Regions from separate parts of the Homo sapiens genome. Here region 1 is linked to region 2. The links are contacts of gene promoters, found by promoter capture Hi-C in human tissues and cell types (Jung and others, 2019). All regions are on one chromosome and are shown on one strand. Each heading gives the region's core, a stretch centred on a gene start or on the middle of the fragment in contact. The rest is flanking DNA. Distances are from core to core; before and after follow the strand shown.

Region 1 (5,282 bases), core at 2,782-5,281, 300 kb before region 2:
TTTAGGCACTGGTGGGCAGAGACGGGGCAGAAAGCTGGAGAGACGGATGCGGATGTCAAAAAGGCCAGGACAGAGAAGCGACTAGCTCAGGACAGGGCTGGGCCGCAGGAGTGAGGCGGAGGCCGGGGAAGTACCGGCGGAGCCTAGGGCACGGCAAGGGCACCAGCTGTGCGAGGTGGGGTACGAGCCCCGACCCCTCCAGCTCTCCTGACCGACGCCCCAACTGGGGATGACAAAACGGAGAGCTAAAGATAGGCAATGTGAGCACCAGAAGGGACCCTAGTTGCAATGGACTGAAGCAGTCAGATAGGTGTAAACCATGTATCATCATTCTACTACTACCAAAGAAGCTCGGACTGGCCAGAGTTTGGAGGATGCTAGGGAAACAGCTCTTTATTCAGAAACTGTTTAATACAGGAAGAGTCCAGCGTTTCTCCCGTCTTCCTTTTACGAACTTTCCCACTCAGTAACCAAATCGCAAGGGGCAGTTTCTGTCTATAATTATTCCAGCTAATAAAGGAAGGGGTGATCAGAGTGATCAAATCTGAATATCACTATTCTGCACACACACAAAAAATAAAACGCTAATGGCGGAGGCAAGACACTACTAAGACCACAGAAACGCATGATGTGCCTTCAAATGGAAGAACACTGTCACCACCTATGAAGTGGTCTCAACGAAGGAAATTGAACATAAACCTTATAAGGCCTCTAGATCCAACTACAAATTACAGTAACAATGTACAGGAAATACAACGTACAGGAAGTATGGAGGTGGGAGGAACATGTTAAAGATCACCATAGAGATGCAATCAGCAAAATCCAGAGGGCAAAAAACTACAGAAGAAATTTTCTGGCTCCTTCAAGGAACGAGAAAGAGAAGGGAGGGAGGGAAGGAAGGAAGGAAGGAAGGAAGGAGAGGGAGGGAGGGAAGGAAGGAAGAAAGGAGGGAGGGAGGGAGGGAAGGAAGGAAGAAAGGAGGGAGGGAGGGAGAGAAGGAAGAAGAAGGAGGGAGGGAGGGAGAGAAGGAAGAAGAAGGAGGGAGGGAGGGAAGGAAGGAAGGAGGGAGGAAAGGAAGGAAAGTATGAAGGAAGGAAGGAAGGAAGGGAGGAAGGAAAAAAGAGAGAGAAAGGATGTATGGGAACCTATAGATTTGAAGAAATTTAAAAGAGCCTTGGCCAGGCACAGTGGCTCACGCCCGTAATCTCAGCACTTTGTGAGGCCAAGGTGGGTGGATCACTTGAGGTCAGGAGTTTGAGACCAGCCTGGCCAACATGGTGAAACCCCTGGGCATGGTGGCACGTGCCTGTAGGCTGAGGCAGGAGAATTGCTTGAATCTGGGAGGTGGAGGTGGCAGTGAGCCGAGATCATGGCACTGCACTCCAACCCGGGTGACAGAGCGAGACTCTGTCTCAAAAAAAAAAAAAAAAAAAGCCCTATAAATCATCAATCAGTTGCAATGTGTGTATCTTCTTTGTATCTTGAGTCAAACAAATACACTGTAAAAATATGTATGTTTATGAGAAATTGGTAATTTGAACACTAGAAGTTTGATATTAAGGAATTTTATTGATGATGTTAATAGCTGAACGTGTTATGTGATTATGTTAAAAAGAGTCATTATCATTTAAAGATACACACTGAAATATTGATGGATGAAATTAATCAGGAGGGGTACAGATGAAACTAGACTGGCCATGAGTTGATAATTGTTGAAGCCAGGTGACAGATACACGGGGGCTTATTATAGTATGCTGCAAATTTTTCAAACTAAGAAGTTTAAAGACCCTGTGACCTCCCTTCCCACCCCTAGGCCCAATAGACAGAAGGTGCTGTGTGTTACAAGCAGCAGGTTGCAATCCAGACAGCTCTGAGTGGGAAGGTCCTCTGATGGCTGAGGGGCCTGAGAAGGGTTTCTGGGGACTTTCTGGCTTGTGGGACAGTCCCTGGCTCCCTTGAATTGGGCAGGGAGGATCTGATGGGGAAGTAGCTGCAGCTTTTCATTAAGGAAGGCTGGCCTCTGTGGGCCTGGTGACACTGGGGCCAGGCACTGCTACCTTAAGACAGCTGAGTGGGTGGCTCCAAAAATAGCCAGGGGGACGGCAGGGGGCGGGGAGTCACATGGAGAAGCTCAGGGGTGAGGCTGGGCAGGTGCCCAGGGGGTTGGCACTTCTGCCTGCTCCCCCAGAACCCTTGGGCTCTTCCTCTGCCTCCAGAACCTTTCTTCCTCCCTCCCTCTGTCTCTGAGAAGACAGAGAGATGGCCAGGTGATGCTGGGACAAATACTGCCTTGCCTGAGGGGACGCTGACTCTGGAATTTGGTGGCTCTCCAGGGATGAGCGGGTCAGTCAGGTGGAGAGAGAGAGAGGAAGGGACAAGGACTGCGTAACCTGCCTACCAGTCACCCCATCTGCAGGCCAACACCTGTGCCCTTAGGCTGGACCCAAGTGATCCTTGCCTGGGGTATTTTGTTGTCCTTTTGAGGCCCTGGAGGAGAGGTCACACAGGCACCAAGGATTTGGGAACCCTGGCAGCCATAGGTCCCCGCCCCCTTCTCAGGGCACCTGGGGAGAGTGCCCCTGTGCCTGCCCTAAGTGAGAGACCTGGGGAGAGGACACCGCGCCCCATCGCCCCTGGACTGAGATCCTTTGGCAGAGGCAAGAAGGAAGGGGAAGCAGGGCCGGGCAAGTACATCAGCAGCACAGTCATCGACTGAGCCAGGCACTGGGCTAAGCCGTCCACATGCATTCTACTCATCAGCAATGTGGCCTTGGGGAAGGTATACACCCCTGTGCCTCAGTTTTATCATCTGTTAAATGGGCACAGTAATAATACCTGCCTCATGGAACTGCTGAGGAGATGGAATGAGGTAATATAGGTAGATATATGTAAGATTCTCAGCACAGTAGCTGGCAGCGCTAGCTGGTATTACCCACTGGCAGGTGACCTCCATGTGGGCAGAGGTTTGCTTATCTTTGCAATTTCAATGTCTGATACATAGCAGGTGTTTCATAAATATGCGCTGCATTCATTACTTTGTGGAGTCCTCACAATGATGCCAAGAGGCAAGCACTATTCTTGCCAGTTTATAGTTGTGGAAATGGGCTAGAGGGCAAATGGTGCACTCAAGGCCTCATCCCCAGCAAGTGGCCAAGGTGGCCCACCTCCAGGCCTCCAAGTCTATGCGCCGAATGAACCCTGACTCCATGGGCCAGAGAGGGTGCCTCCTCCGCTCACCTGTCTCTAGCTGGCTGGTCCTGTCCAGGGCTTGCTAGACCTCCACGCTGAAGTGCTTGGACTGGGGATAAAGGCTGGGTGGATGGCACCTACGTTTGCTGTTAAGGAAGCTGCCGCCAGCCAGCTACACCTACTAGTTACCAGGCCCTGTGCCAGGCCCAAGGATACAAACGTGACAAGATCCTAGTCTTCGAGGAGCTTGGAGCAGTCTGTGTGATTGTGTTGTGCCCAGGAAAGCACGCAGGGGCTAAGGGGACACCCAGCTTGGCCTAGCAGAAGAAGGGAGGTCAGAAAGGCTTCAGAGAGGAGAGGACATCTGTGCAGAGTCTGGAAAGGTGACTGGAAGGTTGCTGCTTGAATGAAGGTGGGAAGGGAACTGCAGGCAGAGGCAATAGCCTGGACGACGGCTTGGAGACTTGAGAGAGTCTGCCAAGCTAGGCAGGAGCGGAGTGAGGCTGAGCAGGGGCCTGGGGTTGGAAGGGTAGGGGCAGAGGATGGGATTCTAGACCAGCTGACCAGGTTCAGGACAGGCCAGAAAGCCACCAACTGGGGATGAGCTGGGAACTCAGGGGCCATGAGAACCATTAGAGTTTTAAGGGAGGATGGAGGTGGCCTGGTTGGTGGTTTAAAAAACACTGTGGCCACTGGAGGGGACGGTTGGAGGGACAATGAGTGCGAGGAGGGTGTCTATCCCAGATTTGGTGCATGCTCCAGGCGGGGAGGGGAGGCTGACGCTGGGACCCAGCTGCCCCGAGCCACCTCCCTCCTTCCCTCCTCTCCTCCCTGCCCCCTGTCTCTGTCACTCACCGGGCGGGCCAGGCCGGGCAGCCATGGCTGAGACACTCTTCTGGACTCCTCTCCTCGTGGGCAAGTTGGGGCCTTGTTCAGCGGGGAGGCCCAGGATGAGGGGGCAGGATTTAGGGGTGGTAAGACGGAGGTGTGGAGGGCCCACAGAAGAGGGATCTGGGTTGGGTGAGGCAGGCGCCAGAAGGGCTTTGGGGTGTTAATGCCATGGCCAGCTGGGGATCCAGGGAATGGGGCTGGGAGCTGGGCTCTGGGATGAAGGGGCTGGGAGCTCTGAGGGCTGGAGGTGTCCTAGGGCCCGGGTGGGTCTGACAGCACAGGCCCAAAGGGTCGTGGGCCCTTTAATGAGCTGGCTGGGCCGCAGCTTCTAAGCCCAGGCTAAATTTGGCCCTGGGAGGGAGGGTGGAGCTGGCGGCCAGGTCCTCTGCTCCTCTCTTGGACTTAGGATTCCTTTTGCTCAGCTCCTACTGGCCTCTAGGGCAGGCCTTCTTCTTCCCTGTATTTTAGGGGAGGAAGGTGGGGGTCTCCAGGCCCAGAATGGCTACCCTTCCTCCTCTGTAGGCTCCTGGCCCCGTCTTCCTCTCCTCTGGGCTCTTGGGCATTTAGCATGGGATTCTTTTCCCAGTGCCTTTCACACATACACACCCTCACACACACACACACCCACACACACCCTCACACACACCCTCACGGCACCCTCACACACACACCCTCACACACACCCTCACACACCCTCACACACCCTCACACACACACCCTCACACACCCTCACACACCCTCACACACACACCCTCACACACACCGTCACACACACACCCCACACACCGTCACACACACCCCCCACACACACCCCCACATACCCCCACATACCCCCACACACCCCCCGCAAACACACACCCCCCACACACACCTTCACACACACACACCCTCACACACACCCTCTCACACACACTCACTTGCACACACACCCTCACACACATCCTCACAGACCCTCACACATACCTTCACACACACACCCCCCCACATCCCCTCACACACACACACACCCTCACACACACACTTCCCAGTCAAACATCAGTCCCTGCCCACTGCACCATTAATAGGGGCCTAAAACAAGGAATGGAAAGGTTGTGGGAGAGGTTCTCCCTCGAATCCCGAAACCCAGACGATTAAAATGTCTAGCCCAGCAGGGCTTGCTCCCCCATCCCCACCCCAATCCCTTCCTGGGAGGCAGCAAAGGA
Region 2 (5,167 bases), core at 65-2,564:
ACATGCACAGCCCCCACCAGGAACAGGGTCTCTTTGTGGGCCTGATCTGCCCAGCTCCTCTGGAAGGCTCCTCAATAAACAAACCTTCCTTTATGGGGTGGTAGGTTTACTGGAGACGGGAAAAACAGCAGAGGAGGGGTGGAAGGCCCAACAGGAAGAGGTGGCTGCTGCTCACAGTTGGGGGTTTGGAAGCACTGGAGATGGCCCTAGGGGGCCTTTTGTGGGGCCAGGGCAGTCCCACTCCTTTTATATGTAAGAATCCTAGGAGGGCAGTGGTCGAGACTGGCAGCAGACAGGGATTAGGGTAGGGATGTGACAAGGCGAGGAAGGGAGGTGGCAGAGCTGCTCACCTTGGAGATAGCCAGAGGGACAGGGAACCTGGGGACGGGGGATGGTGCCAGCTGTGGCCCTGGCTCCTGGGGCCTCCAGGAAGGGAAGAAGGAACCAGGGCAGAGCCCACAGCCAGGAGCTCACCTTCTCCAGGTTGGTGTTGTCCAGCCAGAGGGTCTCCAGGTATCTGCCAAAGGACTGGAAGGCATTGTCCGGGATGCTTTTCAGGGGGTTGTGGGACAGCTTCAGCTCCTCCACCACCCGTAGCTTGCTCAGGGCAGCTGAGGGGTAGCTGGACAGCTGGTTCCTGTCCACGTGGAATTTGGCGAGGTTCTCCACGTCGTCCAGGGCCCCGGGCTGCAGGGAGCTCAACGCGTTTTCCGACAGGTAGAGCCAGCGCAGGTCCTTGGCTCCCTGGAAGGCGCCTGCGCGCAGCTCACGGATCTTGTTGTTGTTGAGCTGCAAGATGAAGAGGTTGACCAGCGGGGAGAGCAACCCCCGGGGCAGCTCAGTGACCTTGTTGTGGTCCAGGTAGAGGTAGGTCAGCTCGGTCAGGTCGTCGAAGGCACCTGCGCGCAGCACGCGGATGTCGTTATGGGACAGGTACAAGTAGATAAGTTGCTTGAGGCCGCGGAAGGCACCGGCGGCCACCTCGCGGATCTGGCAGTGCTGCAGGTGCAATGACACGAGGTTCGGCATGGCCCGGAACGAATTGGCAGCCAGCACCGGGAAGTTGTTGCGCTGTAGGTTGAGCAGCTTGGTCTTCTCTGACACCTTGGGGATCTTCTGCAGCCCCACCTTGTCGCAGATGACGTGCTGCAGGTCGCTGTGGCAGTGGCAGTTCTGGGGGCAGGCGGCCAGCGCCGGCAGCAGACCAGCCAGGAGGCCGAGGCTGAGCAAGAGCATTGGGCGGACCATGGCTGGGACGCCTGGGGCCGGGGCTGGGGGCAGCAGCGGCGGCGGGGCGCGGGCAGCGGCGAGTCCTAGGCGCTCGGGTCTGCCGCCCTCTTTATACGGTGGCCCTGACCGCAGCCGGCAGCCGAGCCAGCTCCTACGTGGAGCATCGAGGCCACTGGGCTTAACTCGCTCGCGCCCAGAGATGCGCCCCCGCCCTCCACGGGGAAGGGGGCGGGGCCGTTCCCCCAGCCGGCTACCGTGCATGAGGGGGTGGGACCGTGGCCCCCGAGCCCCGAGCCCTGAGCCCCGGCTGTAGCCCCCCGCTCTCCTATGGTGCTCCTCTGCCTACCGCCTTTCCCGGGGCTTTTCTGGGAAGGGGGAATAGTTATGTCTGGAGCCCCGAGTTTACATCGGAGAGAGGGAGGCGTTCCCTCAACTTATTTGTTTGCTCAGGTTTGAGCCTCCACGCCGCGCCATCCACACACGCTCGGCCGGGTGCCCTGGATGCGAGGCGGGAGGAAGCGGGGCCGGACAGCTGGATGCGTCTCCCTGCGGTGGGCCAGCTGCCTGCGCTTTAAAGGGGCGCTTGTGCGGCGCCTGCCGAGCGTGAGAGCCGCCCCGGCGTCGGTCTCCCACTTCAGACTCGACGCGCCGAAGCTGGCCCTGGGTAGACCCGAGCTCCTTCCCCACCCTCGGGCGCGCCCCCACCCCTCTCTTCCAACCCCGCTTGCGTTTCTGTCGCCGGCGCCCTCATCCCCTTTTTCCACCGCTGAAGGCTAAGCAGAGAAGTGGGAAGTGGGGGAGAGTGGCCCACAGGAATGGCAAACACACCTGGAAACCACAGGCCACAAGCACAGTCGCACCATCCCCCCTCCTTCATCGCCCCGAAATATCTCCATCCCTCATCCCCAACCCTAGTGGTCAGGACCCGCCCCTGAGGGGTCTCAGGGTGGCGGCTGAGTGGCGCCGAGGTGTACTTGGCAGATGCCACATTCGGGCGGTGGCCCCAGGACTGTGAGGAGGGGTGCGGGAGGGGGTGGGGCAGGTCGAGGGACCAGCCCTGGACGGCTCTGGCTGCCAGACCCTAAGTTCTGTGGGCAGTCCCGCCCCAGCCCGCCAGATTTCTGTGTGCCCACTTGCCAGCCACGATGTCCGGATTCCTGTGGAAAGGGGAGGGTGAGCAGGCAGGGTCACAGCTCTGGCCTCAGGGTGAGCTCCAAGCTGCCTGGCACAGGATATTGTCTGTGATGAGGGGTGGAAGGAGAAACCAGAACCCACATTGAACCAAACCCCAGCCGTGCCAGAGCCAGAGCAGCTGATATGGGGGAAGCTTGGTGCAGGGAGGAGGATGGATGAGATCTGGTATCCGTTGATTAAAGGGGACCTAGGATACGGGGTAACTAGCCTCTCTTCCCTTACCCAGTACCCTCGTGTTGGGGCCTGGTTTCCAGGGCCTGCCCTTTTCCCAAACCTCTCTGCCCCTTGCCTCTAGGATAGGAGGGTCATACTTGGCCTAGACCATTCCTTGATGGTATTTAGGCTTCTCCAAGGCTGGCTTCTGGTTTTTCTGTTGCTCAGGCTTTCCAACCACTGGAAATGGGGGAGGTGGGGTGGGGGTACCACTGGTTTTTAAAATCACTGCTTAGGTTGTTTTTTTATTTTGATGGAAATAAATTCACGGGAAACTCTCCAGAGCTTGGGGGACGCCTGCCCCAAGGCCAGGCACTTGTTCAGGGTTTGCAGAATGCGGGGGTGGGGTTGTGTCTGTGCCACTCCTAGCTGGGCCAAGGCAGGCTGGCTTTCTCATCAAGTTTATGGGGCCTTCAGCTTGGAAGGGAGGAGCCGGGGATGTGGCCTGAAATCAGGAAGGTGGGGTTAAGGCAGCCAGGGGATGGGGGGAGAAGTGTGGGGTGTTGGTAATACCGGAGCCACAGGCACAGACAGGTGGCTGCTCCAGGGAAACGGGGCACTGAGAGAGCTCCAGCTGGAAGAGAATGGTGTCCCTGCTCTCAATTTTCTTTCAGATCTGGGGCCCTGCAGAGATCTAGTCTGCTCACTCCCAGCACCTCTGCCTCCTGACCCCAGGCCCCTACCAATGATGTCTCTGTTTCCACCATTCGGCTGCCCTCCACTTTCCCTTTTCTTTTATGAATTCCTTCCCATTTCCTCAGATAGCTCACCTGATCCCTCTGCACGTGCTGAGCCCTCTTCAAACACCCTTTCTGGACCCTCTAGGTTGCTTATGGAACCACAGAGAACAGTCCCGTGACATTCGCGCACTTCCCTGAGGACACTGTGGAGCAGAAGGCAGAAAGCGTGGGCAGAATTATGCCTCACACGGAGGTGAGCCCCTGACCAAGACTCCAAAGTCCCACCTCCCGTCACCCAGCTGGGGTGCACCCAGCTGGGACATCGGTTGCTTTCAGTGAGAGAGTCAAATGGCTCACTCAGGATGCCTAGAGCCCCCCAGCAGCAGGGGTGTGCTAGGCCTGGCCCGGAGTGTTCTCTGTGGGCTAAGCATGAAAGGGGAAGAGCTGGAACAGTGGCTGTGAGCGGCTGCCAGCTGAACTTCTCCGCGGCCTCCCTTCCTGTCTGAGGTGTGTTTTTGCCAAGCCCACTGTCTGTTTCAGGGCAGCCAGGGTAGCCTCAAAGAGGAGCCAGAGCACAGAGAGTTTTCCTACACAGCTTCTTTTCCTCCAGTGGTGCTCGCCTCTCGCTTTAGCAGAGTTCTTCTTCTTGCTTGGCGTAAACACTTCATTTCCCAAGCAGCCTATCCCTTTGGGGCGGTCCCTTTGCCCCTCAAAGGTTGCCCCAGAGTGCACCTGAATCTCAAATGCCCAGCCATGCCTCCTTTCCTGCTCCAACACTGGGGCTGTGCCAGCTGGCTCCTGATTTCCCCTGCACCCTTCTGCTCCCGCCCCTGGGGGATCGCTGCCCCCGTGCACAAGCAGCTGCTTCCCCTGGGGCTGACCGCTGTCCTGGCGTGAATCTGCCCTGCCCTCCCGCCAGAGCAACCATGTACCCAGGGATTGAGTAGGGATGTGAGCCTCCTCCCGTGTGTGCTACAGCTGCACTGCCACTGTCACTAAGATGCCCACCTGGAAGGGAAACAGGGGCAGGCATCACTCACCCCATTTCACGGACACAGACACTGAGGCACACAGAGGCTCAGCTTTCCTTGGCACGGTGGCCGTGGCTCTTTTCTCTACCAGGCTTTCAGACTCTGTCTCTCCTGTTCACATGGTGTTGCCATGCCACCCTGTTTGGCTTATTTGCTGCTTAATGGGAAGTAAGAGGAGACTCCCTTCTCCTCTGCACGGTTTATAATTCTTCAGCTGGCTCTGCAGTCCACAAACCTCTTTCTTTGCAGCAGCTGCCTGCCCACTCTGTTTCCTCAGCCCTCCCAGCCTGGGACTCAGCTCTTCTTTCATGCCCAGCTCAGGTCTCTCACTGGCTTTGGGTCGACTCTAGCCTTTGTCTCCCTTCTCTGGATGGGGATAAGCAGAGCCAGGGGGCCTCATTCCAGGCAGTTGGGTTGGGGGGTTGGGGGCAGGCAAAGCTCTCTCCATTTCCAAGGACCACCTATCCTGAAGCAAGAGGATAGGAAGCCCCAACCTGAGGCCATCCTGTCCCAGGCCCGGATCATGAACATGGAGGCAGGGACGCTGGCAAAGCTGAACACGCCCGGGGAGCTGTGCATCCGAGGGTACTGCGTCATGCTGGGCTACTGGGGTGAGCCTCAGAAGACAGAGGAAGCAGTGGATCAGGACAAGTGGTATTGGACAGGGTGAGAAGGCAGGGCGGGGTGGAGGCTCTGGCCGCTGAGGGGAGGCTGGAGGTCTTGAGGCTGAGCCGGGAACATTAACCTGGCACCGTGAGGATGTGGGTATCAAGATGACCCCTCACATGCTGGAGTCTTAATTTCCAAAATGTATACGGT

Evidence for each region. The method cuts DNA at HindIII sites, captures the fragments that hold promoters and counts their contacts. A contact is called where the count stands out against the background at its distance.
Region 1: a contact is called between the fragment with the promoter of SGCA here and the fragment with the promoter of CHAD in region 2, in 1 of the 25 tissues and cell types used here (IMR-90 fibroblasts).

The regions. Positions count from the first base shown.
Region 1 is chr17:50,161,974-50,167,255 of GRCh38, forward strand. SGCA (sarcoglycan alpha) reads left to right here and starts at 4,032. Exons shown (of 10, transcript NM_000023.4): 1 at 4,032-4,104. The coding sequence starts at 4,068. It overlaps LOC105371818 (a long non-coding RNA gene), which reads right to left and starts at 4,384. Exons shown (of 4, transcript XR_934833.3): 1 at 4,045-4,384; 2 at 3,238-3,506. RefSeq lists an enhancer at 1,626-2,126. The HindIII fragment of the contact is 20,868 bases long and covers 1-5,282 here.
Region 2 is chr17:50,467,566-50,472,732 of GRCh38, forward strand. It overlaps CHAD (chondroadherin), which reads right to left and starts at 1,315. Exons shown (of 4, transcript NM_001267.3): 1 at 475-1,315. The coding sequence starts at 1,248. ACSF2 (acyl-CoA synthetase family member 2) reads left to right here. Exons shown (of 16, transcript NM_025149.6): 11 at 3,463-3,570; 12 at 4,863-5,014. RefSeq lists enhancers at 272-1,230, 1,231-2,188. The HindIII fragment of the contact is 15,801 bases long and covers 1-4,489 here.